3 separate regions of the Homo sapiens genome follow, and all the other regions are linked to region 3. Evidence: promoter capture Hi-C in 16 types of primary human blood cells and fetal thymus (Javierre and others, 2016). All regions are on one chromosome and are shown on one strand. Each heading gives the region's core, a stretch centred on a gene start or on the middle of the fragment in contact. The rest is flanking DNA. Distances are from core to core; before and after follow the strand shown. Region 1 overlaps PTPRF (protein tyrosine phosphatase receptor type F). Region 2 overlaps ST3GAL3 (ST3 beta-galactoside alpha-2,3-sialyltransferase 3). Region 3 holds the start of ST3GAL3-AS1 (ST3GAL3 antisense RNA 1).

Evidence for each region. The method cuts DNA at HindIII sites, captures the fragments that hold promoters and counts their contacts. A CHiCAGO score of 5 or more calls a contact.
Region 1: a contact is called between a fragment that was not itself captured here and the fragment with the promoter of ST3GAL3-AS1 in region 3, in 2 of 17 cell types (megakaryocytes and M1 macrophages). The highest score is 8.0, in megakaryocytes.
Region 2: a fragment that was not itself captured here is called in contact with the fragment with the promoter of ST3GAL3-AS1 in region 3 in 1 of 17 cell types (endothelial precursors); the score reaches 5.3 in endothelial precursors.

What each region holds. Positions count from the first base shown.
Region 1 is chr1:43,536,129-43,539,298 of GRCh38, reverse strand. It overlaps PTPRF (protein tyrosine phosphatase receptor type F), which reads right to left. Exons shown (of 34, transcript NM_002840.5): 2 at 1,022-1,101. Among named protein-coding and RNA genes, the nearest start is that of PTPRF, 6.8 kb to the right of the region's middle. The HindIII fragment of the contact is 188 bases long and covers 1,749-1,936 here.
Region 2 is chr1:43,926,722-43,929,801 of GRCh38, reverse strand. The region is part of intron 11 of ST3GAL3 (ST3 beta-galactoside alpha-2,3-sialyltransferase 3); the gene reads right to left. Among named protein-coding and RNA genes, the nearest start is that of ARTN, 5.5 kb to the left of the region's middle. RefSeq lists an enhancer at 1-205. The HindIII fragment of the contact is 3,253 bases long and covers 1-3,080 here.
Region 3 is chr1:43,725,978-43,728,840 of GRCh38, reverse strand. It overlaps ST3GAL3-AS1 (ST3GAL3 antisense RNA 1), which reads left to right and starts at 1,498. Exons shown (of 4, transcript NR_125986.1): 1 at 1,498-1,608. The region is part of intron 1 of ST3GAL3 (ST3 beta-galactoside alpha-2,3-sialyltransferase 3); the gene reads right to left. The HindIII fragment of the contact is 15,149 bases long and covers 1-2,863 here.

The sequences.
Region 1 (3,170 bases), core at 593-3,092, 190 kb after region 3:
AGCCCGCAAACCCTCCTTAAATGCTCCCTTGTCCTCATCCCACACATCTAACCCATCAATAAGTTTGAATCTGACCTGCCTCCATCCTCACTGCCACTGTGTTAGTAAGACCTCATCACTTCCTGCCTCTTTGGTGGGCTTCCTGCCTTCAATCACTCCCAACCCATCCCGCACACAGACCAGTGCCACCTTTCAGCACATAAAAATGCAAATCTGCACTTTTGTTTGCCACTTTATTTCACAGCAGGCATTCAGACAGTGTTCCGTGAAAGAATGAACGGATGGGCAATGGACAGATCAACACATGGATATTGCTTCTCTGCTTAAGAACCTTCAATGCTGCTGTATTGCCCTCAGGAAAAAGTCTAAAGTCTTTAGCCTGACATCCAAGGCCCATGATGCTGACTCTAAACCAACTTACCAACCTCATTCCCTGCAACTCCAGCCCACCCATTCTGTGCTTCTAACAGACAGAGAGGAGAACAAGGGGACATCAAAGAGATGCAGAGGACATGCCCAGATCCTGCAGGCACCAAGCTCTTTCTACGACAACCTACAGTCGATGGGAACAGTCTTTTCTACAGAAACGTGGCGAATGGAGAAGCAGAAGAAAGATCCTGGTGTAAGTCCCAGGACATCACCCGGAAGCCTATTTCACACCTACAGTAGCTGACGAGCTGTATGTCATTCCCCATCCACCTCTATCATCCACTCCAGCCAGAAACTCAGGCACCATCCTTGACACCTCCCCTCCTTCATGCCCCACATTCAATCCTTCACCACGTCCTGTCTACTCTACCTCCCTAAATAGCACTCACATCCCTTCTCTCCACTTCTGTCACTGCCTCCCTGGTCCAGGCCTCCACAATCTCTCACCAGTGCACACTGGATCATGTCATGCCCCCTGCTGACACCCCCTCTATAGCTCTCCACTGACCCTGCATCAAATCCAAGCTGCTCAGCCTGGTCCATAGGACCCCTGTGCACCCCTGCTCCTGGCCACTCTGTGGGGCACACTCACCGAGTCTTTGCTTCTTCACCCCGGTCACTCTTGCTGGATACTCAGCACCAAGGGCCGGGCACCAGGGCCTCCACTCCTTCCTGGACAGAAAGGAAAGCATGAGAAAACATCAAGAATTTCATCACAACAGCATATGTATTGACACAGAAAGACATTAAAAATTTGCTGTTTATGCAGAAAAAAAAGCAGGTTATGGAAATGTTCATGTAGAACCATCCCCATCTGGTAAAAATGCCCATCTTTTCCCTTCACTCCCTCGCTCATTCATTTTGATACTCCCTAAGCACCTACTATGTGCTGGGCGTCCTTCCAGGCACCAGCCATATAGCTGTGAGCCACACAGACCAAGTCCCTGACCTCAGCAGTAGACTCTGTGGCCCAGCTCCTCAGCATGACCCCAGAGCCAAGCAGAGTCGGCCCCTCCCACCTCTGCAGCCCTACCTGCCCATGCTCTCCTCCTGCCAGAACGGGAACTTCCTCTTCTGATCCTCAAATGTGCCAAATTTCTTCCTGTCTCCCAGCCTTGCCAGTGCTGAATGCCACTGCCTGGCACAGGCTACCCATGCTCTTCTGGCCAACTTACCCTCGGATCTCAAGTCCAGTGGCACTTTCTCAGGGAAGCCTTCCACAATGTCCCAGACTACCTGCCTGGACCTTGGCTTGGAGCCGTGACCACAAACATGACTATTTATATATTTTTACAATTACTGAGTCACTACCATAAGCTTGATAGGAGCATGGACTGTGGCTGCCCAGCTCATTTCCGTATCCCCAGCGCCTGGCTGACAGCTGGCACATAGTAGGTGCTCAGTCAGCATACACTGAATGAGTGGATGAACGCATGAATGAGTTCAAAGAAAACAGCCCAGCCTGGAAGAACACACCCCAACATACATGCCAGTCTTCAAAGAAGCTTCAGAAGCAATATTTATTTTTGACTTTCTCTACTCTATAATTTTTAAAATGAAGGCGTGCCCCTGGATGCCTCCTCCGCTGGCACACATGCAGCGACAGAGCCCAGCCCCTTCCTTCTAGAGCCATTATTGAGTCCCCACCAGCGTGGGTACCATCCTGGGTGGGGGTGGGGGTCAGACACACCCATACCACCTCATCACCACTTCACGGAAGCTCAGCTGTTTGGCCTACTCGACGCAAGCTGCACCTTGCAGCAGGCTTCTCACCTCAAGCCCCCACATGCACAGTGATCCCCACCCCACACCACTCTGCCACCTTGGCTCCTCCTATAACGGACACAAAGAAACCACAGTGGGAGGGTGGTGCGTGGGAATGTCCTCACCGGCCCAAGACTGACCCTCATCATGAAATCAAGGACACACCTCTGCACCTGGGAATTACCCTCAAGTTGCACTAACCACCTCTGCCAATATGGGGGTACTCTCACCGACTGAAGGCCATCCCAACTGACCCAAGATGGCCCTCGCCAGCTTGGCGACCCAGCCTCCACTGCCCCACCTACCTGCACCAGAACCCGCAGCCCTCTCTGCATGCTTCCCTCCCCGCTCCCCAAGCTGAGTTTCCAGCAGCTGCTGCTCCCAGCATACAGGCTGCCCAGCAGGTCTGGCCAGACAAACCAGCTTCCAGGCCCCAAACTTAAAGGCCCATTTGTCTAGAGATGCCCGCAGGGCCTCACAGTATTCAAGTGAGGTTTTTGGCTGCACCATTGTGCAGAGACCCTGGGCAGAGGGGCAGAGTCCAAGGCAGGGAACTGGGTAATGGGAAAGGCCCCCCAAGCTGGCCAGGCGCTGCTGCCACACCCAGCCACAGCAGGGTCTCGTGCTTGGAGACTGAGACAGGCCCTACATGGAGCAGAAGCCACACCTGGAAAGAGGTGTGTACCCAAAGTGGCCAGGGGCCATTTTAGAAGACTAAACATTTGCAAAGACCCTGAGGCACACAGAACAGCATGAGGGCAGGATCCTAGAAAAGCCAAACAGTAACTTTGAACCACGTCAGTCTGGGATCAAACTGACCTCAAAACAACCTATCAGGCAACCAAATAAAGACTCAGATTCACCAACTGCAGCTCCCAGAACCCACTCTACACTCACACTGGGACAGAGCCCAGAACAACCAGGACAACCAGATACACCCCCAGAACAGAGCCAGAGCTGACATCTGGAAGGTTGAC
Region 2 (3,080 bases), core at 308-2,807, 200 kb before region 3:
AAGCACCTAGGTTATAGACACCCTGCGGGCAGGCAGTGTGAGTCACTGAAGTCCAACAGCAAGGGGTGGCTGAGTCACTCCCTGGCCTGATGCAATCTACTCTCCAGGCCTGGGGGCGGCGGATGAAATCCTGCCTCCCAGATCAGAGGAGCTATGGGGCCTGCGGAGAGATGGCAAATCTTTTTTAGAAAATTAAAAATAGGCCAGGCGCGGTGGCTCACGCCTGTAATCCCAGCACTTTGGGAGGCCGAGGCGGGTGGATCACGAGGTCAGGAGTTCAAACCAGCCTGACCAACATGGTGAAACCCTGTTTCTACTAAAAATACAAAAATTAGCTGGGTGTGATGGTAGCGCCTATAATCCCAGCTACTCAGGAGGCTGAGGCAGGAGAATCGCTTGAACCCGGGAGGCAGAGGTTGCAGTGAGCCGAGATCGCGCCACTGCACTCCAGCCTGGGCAACAGAGAGAGATTCTGTCTCAAAAAAAAAAAATAATAATTAAAACTAATTTTTTAATTGAAAGAATTGTACATATTTTTGGGGTAGAATGTGATGTTTTGATAGATGTATACATTGTGGAATAATTAAATCAAGCCAACCTCACCTACTTACCAATTTTTTATGGTGAGCACATTTGACTATAGTTAATAATAATGTCATATATTTCAAAATTACTAGAAGAGGCTTCTGGGGAAGACTGTACCTGGGATAGGGTCCTTTCCTAACCCCAGGACTCTCACCAGAAAACTTTGATGAAAAAGGCTTGATTTAATGAATGAAGGGCTGAATGACAGCAGCCTTATCAGAGTTTGTCCCCAAGTGACCTCTCTGTTGCGTTTGTCAGCATTGAGCTTCACCATAACTGTTTATTTTTTATCTATTTATTTATTTTTGAGACAGAGTTTCGCTCTTGTTGCCCAGGCTGGTGTGCAGTGGTGTGATCTCAGCTCACTGCAACCTCTGCCTCCCAGGTTCAAGCGATTCTCCTGCCTCAGCCACCTGAGTAGCTGGGACTACAGGAGTGCACCACCACACCCAGCTAATTTTGTATTTTTAGTAGAGATGGGGGTTTCACCATGTTGGTCAGGCTGGTTTTGAACTCCTGACCTCAGGTGATCCACCTGCCTCAGCCTCCCAAAGTGCTGGGATTACAGGCATGAGCCACCGTGCCCGGACCACCATAAATGTTTTTGTTTTTTTTTTCAGATGGTGTCTTGCTCTGTTGCCCAGGCTGGAGTGCAGTGGCACGATCTTGGCTCACTGCAACCTCCGCCCCCCGGGTTCAAGGGATTCTCCTGCCTCAGTCATCTGAGTAGCTGGAACTACAGGTGCCTGCCACCACACCTGGCTAATTTTTTGTATTTGTAGTAGAGATGGGGTTTCACCATGTTGGCCAGGATGGTCTCTATCTCCTGACCTTGTGATCCACCAGCCTCAGCCTCCCAAAGTGTTGGGATTACAGGTGTGAGCCATCGTGCCCGGCCAATAACTGTTAACAGCCACTATTTAGTGGTGCTGAGAAGTGAGCTGGATGCAGTGCCCTGTGCCTGTAGTCCCAACTACTTGGGAGGCTGAGGCAGGAGGATCACTTGAGCTTAGTCCACCTGGGCAACATATAGAAACCCCATCTTTTGAAAAATAATAAATAAATGAATTTTTTACAAAGAACTTATGGCTTGCTCTGTCTAGCCCTTATTCTGATCCAGTCAACCTTCTCCACCTTCCAAATCTTTTACATCTGAAACTCAGGTAGTCATCAGCCAAATTCCCGCAGTCATCAGCCAAATTCCCAATATTCCTCTTCTCTGAGCATTCCCTTCAACCTCTTGTGCTAATCACAAACCCAGCTGCCCTGAAGGAGAGTGCCCCCATACCCCCTCTCAAGTGGTGACCGTTTCTTCCCTCACATTCCACACTCCACAGCCTCTGAAGGCGGGAAGCGTCTTCCTTACACCCCGTTGTCCCTCAGACTCCCTAAAGCCCTCCGGCCCCTTCAAGGCTCCTGTCATTATACTCTGCCATCTGCACTTGCCCCTCCTCATTGCAGATCCCTGGGCGACTCATCCCCATTCTTTGAAGACTTAAGCATCTGGCTCACTGTCTCTCTTTGAGGGTAGGGACTGTTAGGCACAGAGTAGGTGCCTCAATATTTGTTGAATGAAATTAGGTTTTACAGGGAAAACAGAGACTTGGAGGAAAGACAAGGCCAGGATTCAAGCAGATGTGGAAACTCGTTTGCCTCTTTACTTATCCCTCGTCCTCATCACTCCTCTGGAGAAGTAGTAACGAATTTGATGGGTCAGGGTCAACAGCACCCACTAGGAGTCATTGAGGGTTAAAAGGTCAGCAGAGGACTGGACATTTGATGATATTAAGGAATTACTGTTCATGTTTTTAGGTGTAATAATTTAAAAAATAGTCCTTATCTTTTAGAGAAAATGAATGAAGTTTTTTGTTTTGGTTTGGTTTTTGTTTTTGAGATGGAGTTTTACTCTTGTTGCCCAGGCTGGAGTGCAATGGTGCGATCTTGGCTCACTACAACCTCTGCCTCCCGGGTTCAAGCAATTCTCCTGCCTCAGCCTCCTGAGTAGCTGGGATTACAGGCACGCACCACCACTGGCTAATTTGTATTTTTAGTAGAGACAGGATTTCGCCATGTTGGGCAGGCTAGTCTCGAACTCCCGACCTCAGGTGATCCACCTGCATCGGCCTCCCAAAGTGCTGAGATTACAGGCGTGAGCCACCACGCCCGGCCTGAATGAAGTATTTATGGTTGGAGGGATATATGGTATCTGAGACATGTTTGAATCAGTGGAGTGGGAGCATGAGACAAAGAAGAGATGGAACAATGTTGGCCGCCTGTTGATGCCTGTGGAAGGTGGGGGGCAGGAACGTGGGAGTTCATGATATTATCCTCTGTACTCGTAATATGCTTGACAATTTCCATCATAAAAAAGTAAACAAGAAAGTCAGCCCTGGGGTGTAGCTCTCTTGGATCCGGCAATGCCACCTCTCTGGTGCTCTTTTCCTAATTCTATGCAGACAACTTCTGAGTTCACCTGAGCTTTGAACTGGCCGCGG
Region 3 (2,863 bases), core at 249-2,748:
GTGTATATATGTGTGTTATATATACAAAGACATAAAAATAAATATAGTGAGGATAGTGTGTGTACATTTGTGTGTATACACACATATAATTTTTTTTAAACAGTTTCTGTCATTCAGACCAGAGTGCAGTGGCGTGATCATACCTCACTGCAACCTCGACCTCCTGGGCTCAAGTGATCCTCCCATCTCAGCTTCCCAAGTAGGTAGGACCATAGGCACGTGTCACCACGCCCAGCTACTAAAATTTTTTTAACTTTTTGTGGCAACAGGGTCTTGCTATGTGGCCCAGGTTGGTATCAAACTCCTAGACTCAAATGATCCTCCTGCCTTGGCCTCCCAAAGTGCTGGGATTACAGGCGTGCGCCACTGTGCCCACCCCCCCAACATATAACTCTTTAGCTCTGCCCACAGAAAGACCCTGGCAGTGGTCATATCTCAACAGCATGAAGCATATCTAGTACCTAGATTTTGATGGTGTTTTTGTTTTTGTTTTTGTTTTCTGAGAAGGAGTTTCGCTCTTGTTGCCCAGGCTGGAGTGCAATGGTGCGATTTCAGCTCACGATAACCTCCGTAGATCTTGGTTTTGAAATACTATTCTCCACTAACAAGAAGCAGGGTGCAGCCATAAAAAAAGAATGAATTCAGGTCTTTGCAGCAACATGGTTGCTGCTGGAGGCCATCATCCTAAGCAAATTAACGCAGGAACAGAAAACCAAATACCACATGTTCTTACTTGTAAGTGGCAGCTAAACATTGGGTACTTACGGACACACAGATGGCAATAACAGACACTGGAGACTACTAGATGGGGATGAGGGGTGAAGGCGCAAGGGTTGAAAAATGAACTGTTGGGTACTATGCTGAGTACATGGGTGACAGGATCAATCATACTCCAAATCTCAGCATCACACAATACCCATGTAACAAACCTGAACATGTATCACTGAATTGAAAATAAAAGTTGAAATTATTTTTTTAAAAAAGGTTTAGGACACAGATAGAAAAAGGCACTTAATATTCAAGAGGAGTCATGGGTCTTCCGGGAGAAAAAAAAAATTTTTGAGACACCTAAAACCCAGAACAATGTGAAGTTTGGGGAAGGGATGAGGCTAAAGACAGCATAAATGATTTTTCAAAGTTATGTTTGAAGCAAGAAGAAAAGATGAGGAATAGGTTTAGTTTCATCTCTGATACAGCATTTCTTGTTAAAACTGATGGCTTTCTCTGCAGGCACCTGCCTTCTGAATGCTGGTCCCACTCAGCCATCCACTTTCACTTTTTACCAAGTTAATTTCTACTGATTCTTCAGATCAGTTAATTACTGGTATGCTGCCCCTCCCCAGTCAAGGATCTTTTATTACCCTACCATAGAATCACATTTCTTTCCTTAGTGCACTTCTCTCACTTGAGAAATGCCCCCATTAATGTTATTACTTGATTAATATCGACCTCCCTTTTCTCCTTCCAGGGCTGAAATTGTGTCTGGTTTTGCTCATCATCTTATAGCATATAGCAGGAGTGTAATAAACAATTGCTTAAAAAAAAAAAAGGAAGCAGGTCTCCTTGGAAGAATGGCTGACTCCAAGGCTGGGGCAGAGAAGGCGTAAGGTAAGTCTGGGCCACCTTGTTGTGCCTGAAAATGGGAAAATGCTCAGAGTGAGGACAGGTCAAAAGGAAAAAGGAATCAGCCTGAGGAGCTCCCACTGGTCAGATCTGGAGCAATTCAGCATCAAGATAAAGACTGATAATAACAGATTATAATCCATTAAATAAGAATCTAATAAAGGGGGAGAAAGCTCTCAGAGTGAAACGACAGCTGATGAAAATAGAAGGAATAATGTAATTAGAAAATCACCATTTAGGAACCATTATAGTAATAATTCACCCAAGAAACATCAATGGATGCTAAAATTAATGCATACAAGTTTTACAAGAAATGGGATACAGGGCCAGAAACAATGGCTTACACCTGTAATCCCAGCACTTTGGGAGGCCGAGGCAGGCGGATCATTTGAGGTCAGGAGTTCGAGACCAGCCTGGCCAACATGGGGAAACCCCATATTACTAAAAATACAAAAATTAGCCAGGCATGGTGGCACCCACCTGTAATCTCAGCTACTTGTGTGGCTGAGGCAGAAGAATTGCTTGAACTCGGCAGGCGGAGGCTGCAGTGAGCCAAGATCGTGCCACTGCACTCCAGCCTGAACAAGAAAACAAGACTCTATCTCAAGAAAAGAAAAAGAAATGGGATATAGGCCAGGCACAGTAGCCCATGCCTGTAATACTAGCACTTTGGGAGGCCAAGGTAGGAGGATCACATGAGGCCAAGAGTTCAAGACCAGCCTGGGCAACACAGCAAAATTCCACCTCTAGAAAAAATTTTAAGATTAGCTGGGCATAGTGGCATGTGCCTGTAGTCCCAGCTACTTGGGAGGCTGAGGAGGGAGGATTACTTGAGCCCAGGAGTTAGAGGCTGCAATGAGCTAAGATCATGCCACCGCACTCCAGCCTGAGTGACAGAGCAAGACCCTATCTCTTATAAATAAATAAATAAAAAATAAGATATAAAATAGTTTTAAACTATTTCCTCACTAATTATTAACAGAGGGGAACAGAGTAACTTTGAAGTTGAGAAATCTGACAGACATCACAATAAGCTAGCTGAAGGGGACATATGGGAGTTCTTTGTAATATTTCTACAACTCTTTTGTAAATAAGAAGTTATTTCAAAATGAAAAGTTAAAAAGGGAAAGGAATTTTAAACTAAATGTTCAAATAAACATCTAAATGAGAGTTTATGCAGCCACTTTAAATGGCTGCATAAACTTAAAAAAATTTTTTAATGGTATAGAGAAATGCTTTT